Regions from separate parts of the Homo sapiens genome. Here region 1 is linked to region 2. The links are contacts of gene promoters, found by promoter capture Hi-C in human tissues and cell types (Jung and others, 2019). All regions are on one chromosome and are shown on one strand. The core of a region is centred on a gene start or on the middle of the fragment in contact, and the rest is flanking DNA. Distances in the headings are between cores, read along the strand shown. Region 1 holds the start of ICAM3 (intercellular adhesion molecule 3). Region 2 overlaps ILF3-DT (ILF3 divergent transcript).

What was found. Contacts are between HindIII fragments. The study calls those that stand out against the background at their distance.
Region 1: a contact is called between the fragment with the promoter of ICAM3 here and a fragment that was not itself captured in region 2, in 1 of the 25 tissues and cell types used here (dorsolateral prefrontal cortex).

Annotation. Positions count from the first base shown.
Region 1 is chr19:10,336,198-10,342,375 of GRCh38, forward strand. ICAM3 (intercellular adhesion molecule 3) reads right to left here and starts at 3,427. Exons shown (of 7, transcript NM_002162.5): 1 at 3,342-3,427; 2 at 2,485-2,751. The coding sequence starts at 3,417. RefSeq lists enhancers at 2,033-2,781, 3,067-3,166, 3,387-3,436, 3,530-4,277, 4,278-5,025. The HindIII fragment of the contact is 6,056 bases long and covers 1-3,779 here.
Region 2 is chr19:10,647,316-10,653,103 of GRCh38, forward strand. It overlaps ILF3-DT (ILF3 divergent transcript), which reads right to left. Exons shown (of 1, transcript NR_024333.1): 1 at 4,547-5,788. Among named protein-coding and RNA genes, the nearest start is that of ILF3-DT, 3.7 kb to the right of the region's middle. RefSeq lists enhancers at 5,039-5,541, 5,542-5,788. The HindIII fragment of the contact is 3,105 bases long and covers 1-2,858 here.

The DNA.
Region 1 (6,178 bases), core at 2,177-4,676, 310 kb before region 2:
ACTTTCTGTTCTCAAAGATGGCACAATAAAAAAAAATGAGGATGGAAGGGATGAACGTTTATGACTATGATATGAATATTAAAAATTCCTGTTTATGGCCAGACGTGGTGGCTCACGCCTGTAATCCCAGAGCTTTGGGAGGCCGGGGTGGGTGGATCAAAAGGTCAGGATTATTCAGTTCTCTCCAATCAGGTTCAGACACTCAGGGCTTTCCTGGTTCACCAGCCCTGTGGCAGCCTCTCAAGATACTCCGGCACAGTCACAGGAGACTTGACACTCCCAGGCTGGGTGCCCTCCCCAGTACACCTACAAAACGCTGGGCCTCAGGCCGGGCACTGTGGCTCATGCCTGTAATCCCAGCACTTTGGGAGGCCAAGGTGGACGGATCACCTGAGACCAGGAGTTCAAGACCAGCCTTGCCAACATGGTGAAACCCCATCTCTACTAAAAATACAAAAATTAGCCAGGCATGGTAGCACGTGCCTGTAATCCCAGCTACTCAGGAGGCTGAGGCACAAGAATCGCTTGAACCCAGGAGGCAAAATTTGCAGTGAGCTGAGATAGTGCCACTGCACTCCAGCCTGGCGACAGAGAGAGACTCTATGTCAAAAAAAAAAAAAAAAAAAAAAAGGCTGGGCAAGGTGACTCATGCCTGTAATCCCACCACTTTGGGAGGCCGAGGGAGGCGGATCACTTGAGGTCAGGAGTTTGAGACCAACCTGGCCCATATGGCAAAACCCTGTCTCTACTAAAAATACAAAAATTAGCCGGGCATGGTGTCACACGCCTGTAATCCCAGCTACTAAGGAGGCTAAGACAGGAGAATCACTTGAACCCAGGAGGCGGAGGTTGCAATGAGCTGACATCGCGCCATTGTACTCCAGCATGGGGGACAATAGCAAGACTGCGTCTCAAAGAAAAGAAAAGTCAAAAAGTAGGCCAGGCATGGTGGCTCACGCTTATAATCCCAGCACTTTGGGAGGCCAAGGCGGGCAGATCATTTGAGGCCAGGAGTTTGAGACCAGCCTGGGCAACATGGTGAAATCCTGTCCCTACTAAAAATACAAAAATTAGCTGGGCGTGTTGGCATGCGCCTGTAATCCCAGCTACTCAGGAGGCTGAGGCAGGAGAATCGCTTGAACCCGGAAGGCAGAGGTTGCAGTGAGCCAAGATTGCGCCACTGCACTCTAGCCTGGGGGACAGAGTGAGACTCTGTCTCAAAAAAAAAAAAAAAGAAAAGAAAAGAAAAAAAAAAGTAGCCAGGCCTGCAATCCCAGCTACTGGAGAGACTGAAGTGGGAGGATTGCCTGAGCCCAGGAGTTTGAGACCAACCTAGGCAACATAGGGAGATCCTGTCTCTAAAATAAAGGTATAAAAAAGTGTAAATGTAAAACCTCCATTTGCCTACTGCTGACTGAAAGGGGTACCCCCTTTTTTGCTTAAGAGACAAGGGTCTTGCTTTTTTGCACAGGCTGGAGTGCAGTGGTGCAATTATAGCTCACTACAGCCTTGAACTCCTGGGCTCAAGCGATTCTCCCACCTTGGTCCCCCAAGTAGCTGGGACTTCAGGCATGTGCCACCATGCCCAGCTAATATTTTTTATTTATTTTTGTAGAGACGGGGTGTCCCTATATTGCTCTGCCTGGTCTTAAATTTCCGGACTCAAGCAATCCTCCTGCCTTGGCCTCCCAAAGTGTTGGGATTATTGTTGGGGCCAGGCGCAGTGGCTCACACTTGTAATCCCAGCACTTTGAGAGGCTGATGTGGGCGGAACACCCCGTCTCTACTAAAAATACAAAACTTAGCTGGGCATTAGCTGGACCTGGGAGGCAGAGGTCGCAGTGAGCCGAGATTGCACCACTGCACTCCAGCCTGGGCTACAGAGTAAGAGACGCCATCTCAAAAAAAAAAAAAAGCTTGTTGGGGCCGGGCGCAGTGGCCCATGCCTGTAATCCCAGCACTTTGGGAGGCTGAGGTGGGCGGATCGCCTGAGGTCAGGAGTTCAAGACCAGACTGGCCAACATGGTGAAATGCCATCTCAACTAAAAATACAAAATTTGCTGGGTGTGGTGGCGTGCATGTGTAATCTCAGCCACTCGGGAGGCTGAGGCAGGAGAATCACTTGAACCCAGGAGGCGAAGGTTGCAGTGAGCCGACATCGTGCCACTGCACTCCAGCCTAGGCAAAAAGAGCGAAACTCTGTCTCAAAAAAAAAAAAAAAATGCTTGTTGGGGCCCAAGTTAATTGATTTCACAACTGCTGCCTTGGCATGAGATTGAGATGCGTCTCTATATCTCTGTCTCTGTCTCTGTGTCTCTGTCTCTGTCTATCTTTGTATCTCACACACAAATGTCCAGGTCTGAGCTCTGGGTCAGAACTGTGGTCCATTCTTTGCAAACTGAGGGTCCCCACTCTCCTGAGCCATTGGCCACTTGCCCACACCACTACCCAAGACCAGTCCCACCTCCGGACACGTCGACTCACTGTACACGGTGATGTTAGAGGAGCCTGTTATCTGAGAGCCATTGCAGTACACTGAGCAGAGGATCCGACTGTTGCCAGTCACGTTGCTGAGATTGAAGGCTGCCCAGCCCATGCCACTGGCCACCAGCTCCTTTGATAGGGACGTCTCCAAGGCGATTTTCTCAGAGCTGGGACAATCAGTACTGCAGTTCACAAACAGGGACCCTCCAGCAGAGAGCACAGGGTTCTGGGGCTCCACCCGCAAAAGGAACTCCTGCCCCTGGACACCTTCAGGAACATGAAGAAGTCCTGGTGTTTGTTTCCTTGTCCCCCAACCCACGCATCAACAGGCCCCACCATTTAACACCTCTCTCCTTGTGCCGAGACAGAAGGGTTCCTGCCTTCATGGTCCAGTGGGAAAGGTAGAATCCATCAGAGACCGGGGAGAACTCAGAAGGAGGCCAGAAGAGGCTCTGATCCAGCATAGGAGGAGGTGAGTCAGGGAAGGCTTCCTGGAAGCGGGGACCATTGCAGCCCGAAACTGAAGGCTAAGTAGGAGTTAGCAAGTGAAAGGGACAGGTGATCCTGGCAGAGGGAAGCACATACGCAAAGGGCAAATTTCAGGAGTTCAGATGGAGCAGGAAGCATGAGGGGTGTGTGTGTGTGTGTTAGGGGAGAGGGATGGCGTACAAGCCTATGCTGGGGCCTGACCACCTGAAGGCTGAACTAAGGAACCAGAACTTTCTCCCGAGGATACAGAGTCAGCGGCCAGGTCGCAGTGTGGCAGGATGTGAACAGCGTTGCGTTCTATTCCTCTACCCTCTACTGATCCCCAAAACGCAGCCCTCTCCAGCCCTCCCCGGCTTGACTGGTCTCACCTGGGGTCAGCAGACAGCAGACCAGCAGAGTCCAGCAGGCCCTGGGCCACAACACGGATGGTACCATGGTGGCCATTCTGACAGAGGAAGGTGCCTTCCTGAGGTGCCCGAAGGGCAGGCAGGGGAAAAGGCGGGGCCTCCCACTGCGACGGAAGCACAGCGGTTAAGATTGCAGAAGTCTGGGGACTGCACCTTGCCCAGGCCTGTGGGTGGAAGGGGATGCTGTGGCCCTTGGGGGCCAGGGTGGGGGACCCAGACGGGGCTCTGCAAAGTGGCCAGCACTGCTGAGTCTCCCCCAGGGAATGGGCTGGTCCCAGTTGCACTGCTGGCCCCCATTTGAATTCACAGGAAATGCTAACTAAACTGGTTTCTTTTGTTCTCAGCACTGGGAAGCCTGGGTGGGGGGGATGAGGCATCTCCTTCTGGCTGAACTTAGGTGGGTAGGGGAATATTCTGTCCCCAGAGAGGAAGTTAATGGGGAAAACTGTAGGCACCATTGTGTAGATGTTAAGGTGGGATTTCGAGGAAACATTAAAAAACAAAAACAAAAACAGAAACAGAAGCAGAGTCTTGCTATGTTGCCCCGACTGGTCTTGAACTCCTGGCCTTAAGATGGCCTCCTCTCATCTTGACCTCCCAAAGTGTTGCGATTACAGGCGTGAGCCACCACGCCTGGCCACCTTTGAAGATCTTGAGGATACCTCCCTATCTTTGAAGATCTTGGGGATCCCCCATCCCCTGCACAAAGAGCTAAGGTAGGTGATTTGGGGACAGCTGAGTCCCTGAGCCACTGTCTATCCAGGATTCTACTTGGTTTTTGTTTGTTTGTTTTGAGACAGAGTCTCACTCTGTCACCCAGGTTGGAGTGCAGTGGCGGGATCTCGGCTCACTGCAGCCTCTGCCTCCCGGGTTCAAACGATTTTCCTGCCTCAGCCTCCCGAGTAGCTGGGATTACAGGCATGTGCCACCACGCCCGGCTAATTTTTGTACTTTTTGGTAGAGACGGGGTTTCACCATGTTGGCCAAGCTGGTCTCAAACTTCTGACCTCAAGTGAGCTGCCCGCCTTGGCCTCCCAAAGTGTTGGGATTACAGGCGTGAGCCACTGCGCCCGGCCTTCCAGGATTCTACTTGTAACTGGCCTTTACCCCATCCTGTTGTCCCCTTGCCCACCCTTCCAGGCAGCTGGTCACTGCATTCCAAGGGAAGGCGCCAAGGGGACCAGGTGGGACCCCCACCTTTGACCTGCCTCTGACCTCAGGCCTCTGACCTGCCTTCTGGGCTTCACATCTGAGCTCCAGAGAGAGAGGCCTTGTTGAGAGCCTTGATGGGGCCCTGCACTCACCCACTTTCCCCAGACCTTGAGGTCACAGCACCTCCTCTCTCATCTAGAGCACCCCCACCTTCCTAAGCAGGTCCCTCCTCTATTCCTCTACCTTCCGAACAATCCATTTCCCACCTGGTGTTGAGAGAGCAGCTAAAACCCAAGTCTAGTGTATTTGTAAACAGCAGGGACCAGTAGCATGGGCCTGGTGCCTGTAGTCCCAGCTCCTTGGAAGGCTGAGGTGAGAGGATCGCTTGAGCCTGGGAGGTCAAAGCTGCAGTGAGTCGAGATTGTGCCCCTGCACTCCAGCCTGGGAGACACAGTGAGACCCTGTTTCCACAAAAAAAAAAAAAAAAAAAAAAGATGTCGGACTTACTGGCTCACGTCTGTAATCCTAGCAGCACTTTGGGAGGCTGAGGTAGGTGGATGACGAGGTCAGGAAATCGAGACCATCCTGGCTAACACAGTGAAACCCCATCTCCACCAAAAATATAAAAAATTAGCTGGGCATTGTGGCGGGCACCTGTAGTCCCAGTTACTCAGGAGGCTGAGGCAGGAGAATCACTTGAACCCAAGAGGCGGAGGTTGCAGTGAGTGGAGATTGTGCCGCTGCACTCCAGCCTGGGTGACAGAGCAAGACTCTGTCTCAGAAAAACAAACAAACAAACAAACATATATATATAATTTATAATACTTACGTAATAGTGAGACCCTGTCTCTAAAAATAAAAAAGAAAGAAATATTTGTAAATAAGTCATATTTCTTTTTTGTTTTTTGAAACAGAGTCTCACCGTGTCGCCTAGGCTGGAGTGCAGGGGCACAATCTCAGCTAACTGCAATCTCAGCCTCCTGGGTTCAAGTGATCCTCCCACCTCAGCCTCCCTAGGAGCTGAGACCACAGGTACACACCACTGTGCCTGGCTAATTTTCTGTAGAGACGGCTTTCACCATATTGCCCAGGTTGGTCTTGAACTCCTAAGCTTAAGGGATCTGCCTGCCTCGACCTCCCAAAGTGCTGGGATTATAGGCGTGCCCTGCTACACCCGCCAGTAATATTTCTGATAAAGAAGTATTTCTGGGCCAGGTGTGGTAGCTCACGCCTGTAATCCTAGCACTTTGGGAGGCTGAGGCGGGCAGATCACGAGGTAAGGAGATCGAGACCATCCTGGTTAACACGGTGAAACCCCATCTCTACTAAAAATACAAAAAAAAATTAGCCCCGTCTCTACTAAAAATACAAAAAAAAATGGTGGCAGGTGCCTGTAGTCCCAGCTACTCGGGAGGCTGAGGCAGGAGAATGGCGTGAACCCAGAAGGCGGAGCTTGCAGTGAGCCGAGATCGCGCCACTGCACTCCATCCAGGCTGGGCAACAGAGTGAGACTCCATCTCAAAAAAAAAAAAAAAGAGTATTTCTGGGCCAGGCGTGGTGGCTCACACCTGTAATCTTAACACTTTGGGAGGCCTAGACAGGCGGATCCCTTGAGGTCGGGAGTTCCAGACCAGCCTGGGCAGCAT
Region 2 (5,788 bases), core at 56-2,555:
TGCTGGCTTTTCAGGGTCTGCAGTCAATGCATGTGGTAGGACATCTCAGCCTCCATGATCACATGAGCCAATTATTCTGCTAAATCCCCTCTCATCTACCTACCTCCTATTAGCTTTCTCGGAGAAACCTAGTAATACACACATCATACATTTTCCTGGCCTTTTTTTTTTTTTTTTTTTTTTTTTGAGATGGAGTCTTGCTCTGTCACTCAGGCTGGAGTGCAGTGGCACGATCTAGGCTCACTGCAAGCTCCGCCTCCCGGGTTCACGCCATTCTCCTGCCTCAGCTCCTGAGTAGCTGGGACTACAGCTGCCCGCCACCACCCCCGGCTAATTTTTTTGTATTTTTCGTAGAGACAGGGTTTTACCATGTTAGCCAGGATGGTCTCGATCTCCTGACCTCATGATCCGCCTGCCTTGGCCTCCCAACGTGCTGGGATTACAGGCATGAGCCACCGCACGCAGCTACATTTTCCTGGCTTTAAGATGAGAAGTCTTCTCTTTTTTTGAGACGGAGTCTCGCTCTGTCGCCCAGCCTGGAGTGCAGTGGCATGATCTTGGCTCACTGCAACCTCCGCTTCCTGGGTTCAAGCAATTCTCTGCCTCAGCCTCCCGAGTAGCTGGGATTACAGGAGCCCGCCACCATGCCCGGCTAATTTTTGTATTTTTAGTAGAGATGGAGTTTCACCATCTTGGCCAGGCTGCTCTTGAACTCTTGAACTCTTGATCCACCCACCTCGGCCTCCCAAAGTGTTGGGATTAGAGGGCCAGAAAAGTCTTTTCTTGCTCCTAAGTCTCAGGCCTGGAGCTCACTGACTCTGACCAGCCTGATTATGATCATTTACTCATTGTAAATCATTGAGTCAATCATTGTAGTCAAGGTGTGGGCCTAGTTTGGGAGTCAGGCAGCAGGGACCTGCCATCTAGACTACAGTTTGATCAAGGGAGAGGAATGGTTCCCCAACAACTGTGGTCATCCCACAGTGTCCATCCCAGAGTGGTCACCCATGTCCACCCTGGGGGGGGGCAAGAAGGGAACAGGCATAGGACAAAAAGCTTTCGAGAGGGAAGTTAACTGGGTGTGATTGGGAGAGTGGGTGGAATCTTTCAAGATGAGGAAGACAATGAATAGAGAGGCTGTAAGGACAGCAGAGTCACTGAGAGTGACAGGACCTGTCTAGACTGACAGATTACAAGAGGGGGATGACCTCAATCTTCAACCAATGAGTGGGAGGGAGGGAAGAGAGAAGGAATAGCCAGATGACAGATGATGTCACTAAGGCAAGGAGGAGAGAATGGTGTTGTATACAGGGTTTGTGACCACTGAGTGGTGGAAGGACAAGGGCAGAGGTGCGAGGTCGGGTCAGGGTAGCAGTTCAGCAAGACAGGGCAGATGGCATCTTGTGTCTTCCATCCTTTACGGTGACCAGGGACTAGGAACCTGATGGATGGGGTTTATTGGAAAGTTGGGCTGAAAACTTTTTACTTCAAAAAATTTTTTTCTTTTTCCTTTTTTTTTTTTTTTGAGACGAAGTCTCACTCTTGTCCCCCAGTCTGGAGTGCAATGGTGCAATCTCAGCTCACTGCAACCTCCGCTTCCTGGGTTCAAGTGATTCTCCTGCCTCAGCCTCCCGAGTAGCTGGGATTACAGGTGCGTACCACCACGCCCAGCTAATTTTTTATATTTTAAGGAGAGATGGGGTTTCACCATGTTGGCCAGGCTGGTCTCGAACTCCTGACCTCAAGTGATCCACCCGCCTCGGCCTCCCAAAGTGCTAGGATTAGAGGGTGAACCACCACACCTGGCCCTTTCTTTTTTTTTTTAGACACAGTCTCCCTGTCACCCAGGCTGGACTGTAGTGGCTTGATCTCGGCTCACTGCAACCTCCACCTCCCAGGTTCAAGCGATTCTCGTGCCTCAGCCTCCCGAGTAGCTGGAATTACAGATGCCAGCCATCATGCCCAGCTACTTTTTGTACTTTTAGTAAAGACAGAGTTTCACCATGTTGGCCAGGGTGGTCTTGAACTCCTGACCTCAAGTGATCCACCAATCTCGGCCTCCCAATGTGCTAGGATTACAAGTATGAGCCACTGCCCCCAGCCTTCTTTTTGTTTTTATTCTTGAAAACTTTTTTTTTTTTTAATGTAGAGATGGGGCTGGGTGCAGTAGCTCATGCCTGTAATCCCAGCACTTTGGGAAGCCAAGGTGGGTGGATAACTTGAGGTCAGGAGTTTGAGACCAGCCTGGCCAACATGGCAAAACCCAGTCTCTACTAAAAATACAACAATTAGCTGACCATGGTGGTGTACGCCTGCAATCCCAGTGACTTGGGAGGCTAAGGCAGAATTGCTTAAACTCGGGAATTGGAGGTTGCAGTAAGCTGAGATTGTTATCACTGCACCCTAGCTGGGACTACAGAACGAGACTCCATCTCAAAAATAAATAAATAGATAGATAGATAAAAAACATAGAGATGGGGTCTCACTATGTTGCCCAGACTGGTCTTGAACTTCTGGGCTCAAGCAATCCCCCTGCCTCAGCCTCCCAAAGTGTAGGATTACAGGCATGAGCCAGCATGCCTGGCCAAGACAACATTTTTCAGGAAGTTCTGGTTGGATGGGGCACCCGTTCAAGAGGTAACAATCATAACCATTACTGTTTTTGAAGCTTTAACTCCATGCCAGGTACTGAAGCAACCCCTTGATGTTGAATTAACTCCGAATCAGTCCTCCTCCAAATCAAACCCTAGGAGGTTTGGGTTTGATCCAAAGACTGTGCTTGTCATCATGACCCTATCCGCCCTTTACTGTGTTTGGGGTCCCTGGGGCAAGAAACGCCTTAGCGGAATGAGATCTTCAAAAGCGTTTTAAGTAACCTTAGGCTCTCTGGAGTTGGGAGTCAGAAAACTAGTAACCATCCTCGTTCTGCCATTTGGCAGTGCTGTTAGCTCAAGCAAGTCACTAAAACTGACCTGTTCCGAAAAAAAGCCAGTCTAGGCTTTGTTATTAACATTCGTTATTATCACAGTGACCTTCAACAATTTAAAGCTTTAACCAATTTTTTGGTTTTGTTTTTGTTTTTTTGAGACAGGGCTTCTGTTGCCTAGGCTAGAGAGCAGTGGCCCAATCTCAGTTCACTGCAGCCTCAACCTCCTGGGCTCAAATGATCCTCCCACCTCAGCCTCCTGAGTAGCTGGGACTACAGGTGTGTTCCACCATGCCCTGGCATTTTAACCAATTTTATCTTAGTGCATGCCCCAATCATCTTACCAAACCTTTCTTCAATTTCCAGCTCTATTTGTGAGACAGATCTGAGGCACAGGAAATGAAATTAAAAAGCCTGGTGCAGAATAACTTATCAATTTATGTGAAAAACAAGAATATGATTATGCACCTCTGAAAATAAAACTCTACTGTAGTTACACAAAAAACTGTACAATGGCTGGTCGCGGTGGCTCACGCATATAATCCTAGCACTTTGGGAGGCCGAGGCGGGTGGATCACGAGGTCAGGAGATCGAGACCATCCTGACTCACCCGGTGAAACCCAGTCTCTACTAAAAATACAAAACATTAGCCGGGCGTGGTGGTGGGCGCCTGTAGTCTCAGCTACTCGGGAGGCTGAGGCAGGAGAATGGCGTGAACCCAGGAGGCGGAGCTTGCAGTGAGCCAAGATCGTGCCACTGCACTCCAGCCTGGGAGACAGAGCAAGACTCCGTTTCAAAAACAAAAAACAAAAAACAAAACTGTACAATGGCTTCTAAGAGGGAGGGAACTGGATGTCTGAGGAAGACTTTGTGCTCTCATGTCTTTGGCACTTTTTTTTTTTTTTGAGATGGAGTCTCACTCTGTCGCCCAGACTGGAGTGCAATGGCACGATCTCAGCTCACTGCAACCTCTGCCTCCCGAGTTCATGCCATCCTCCTGCCTCAGCCTCCCGAGTCGCTGAGACTACAGATGCCCACCACCACGCCCGGCTAATTTTTTTTTGTATTTTTAGTAGAGACGGGGTTTCACTGTGTTAGCCAGGATGGTCTTGATCTCCTGACCTCGTGATCCGCCCACTTCAGCCTCCCAAAGTGCTGGAATTACAGGCGTGAGCCACCGCGCCCGGCGTCTTTGGCACATTTGACGTATCATGTGACTATGCTACCTATTAAAAATCCACAGTAAAATGTAAATAAAATAGAAAAGCAGAGGGTACAGCATGCACTCATTTCTTTTTTGAGACGGTCTAGCTGTGCCATCCAGGCTGAAAAGTGCAGTGACTCCATCACGGCTCACTGCAGCCTGGACCTCCACAGCTCAAGTGATCCTCCCACCTACTCCTCCCAAGTAGATGGAACTATGGACACAGGCCATCACGCTCAGCTAATTTTTGTAGAGACTGGGTTTTGCCATGTTGCTCAAGCTGGCCTCAAACTCCTGGGCTTAAGGGATCCTCCAGCCTCGGCCTCCCAAAGTGTGGGGATTACAGGCGTGAGCCACCATGCCCGGCTAGGCACTCATTTCTGTAATTGTTGCAGGAAACAAAGGACCAGAGAGACTGACACGGGAAACAGGAGGATTTATTTAGATGTACACCGGCTCAGTGGATTTGTATCTGAAAAGCTGACCATTGAACAAAGACTGAGTGTGGTTTTTATAGGCAAACTTACAGAAGCAAAACAAAAGCAGTTAATGATACAGTCACAGGTCATGTAATCTATAGCATAACTGCTGACTTAGCATAACTTGTGGCTTTGCACAGCTGTTGGCCTTGCAGCTGTGTCAAAAGAAAAACAGAGTCTACAAATCTTACTAAATACAACCATTGGCAAACAGTCATATTTAATGGTTCAGAAAAGGAGAGACAGTAAAGGAATTTTTCTTTTCAACTTTGCTCCGGAGGAGGCTGTCTGGAGCCCATTCCTTTGGCCTCGACTTTTCAGTGTTATAACTGTCCTTGAAGTAAGCTGGCTAAGCAGAGGAAAACTTGTTCTTGTTTTCTTTTTAACCCTTACCCCCTGCCACATAATCACATCTTTACACTTCTTTTTTTTTTTTTTTTTTTTTTTTAAGATGGGAAGTCGGAGTCTCGCTCTGTCGCCCAGGCTGGAGTGCAGTGGTGCCATCTCGGCTCATTGTAACCTCTGCCTCCCAGGTTCAAGTGATTCAAGCCATTCTTGTGCCTCTGCCTCCTGAGTAGCTGGGATTATAGGCGCACACCACCACACCTGGCGAATTTTTTTTTTTTTTTTTTTTTGAGGCTGAGTCTCACTCTATCGCCCAGGCTGGAGTGCAATGGAGCAATCTCGGCTCACTGCAACCTCCGCCTCCTGGGTTCAAGCGATCCTCCTGTCTCAGCTTCCTGATTAGCTGGGATTACAGGCGCCCTCCACCACACCCAGTTAATTTTTCTATTTTTAGTGGAGACGGTGTTTCACCATGTTGGCCAGGCTGGTCTCAAACTCCTGACCTCAAGTGATCCGCCCACCTCAGCTTCCCAAAGTGCTGGGATTACAAGCGTGAGCCACCACGCCCAGCCAGGAAACCCATTTTCAACACCTCCTTGCTCTTTTTTTTTTCTGAGACAGAGTCTCGCTCTGTCGCCCAGACTGGAGTGCAGTGGCGCAATCTCGGCTCACTGCAACCTCCGCCTGCCAGGTCAAACAATTCTCCTGCCTCAGCCTCCCAAGTAGGTGGGACTACAGGCATGTGCCACCACACCCGGCTAATTTTCTTTTGTATTTTTAGTAGAGACGGGGTTTCACCATGCTGGCCAGGCTGGTCTCGAACTCCTGACCTCG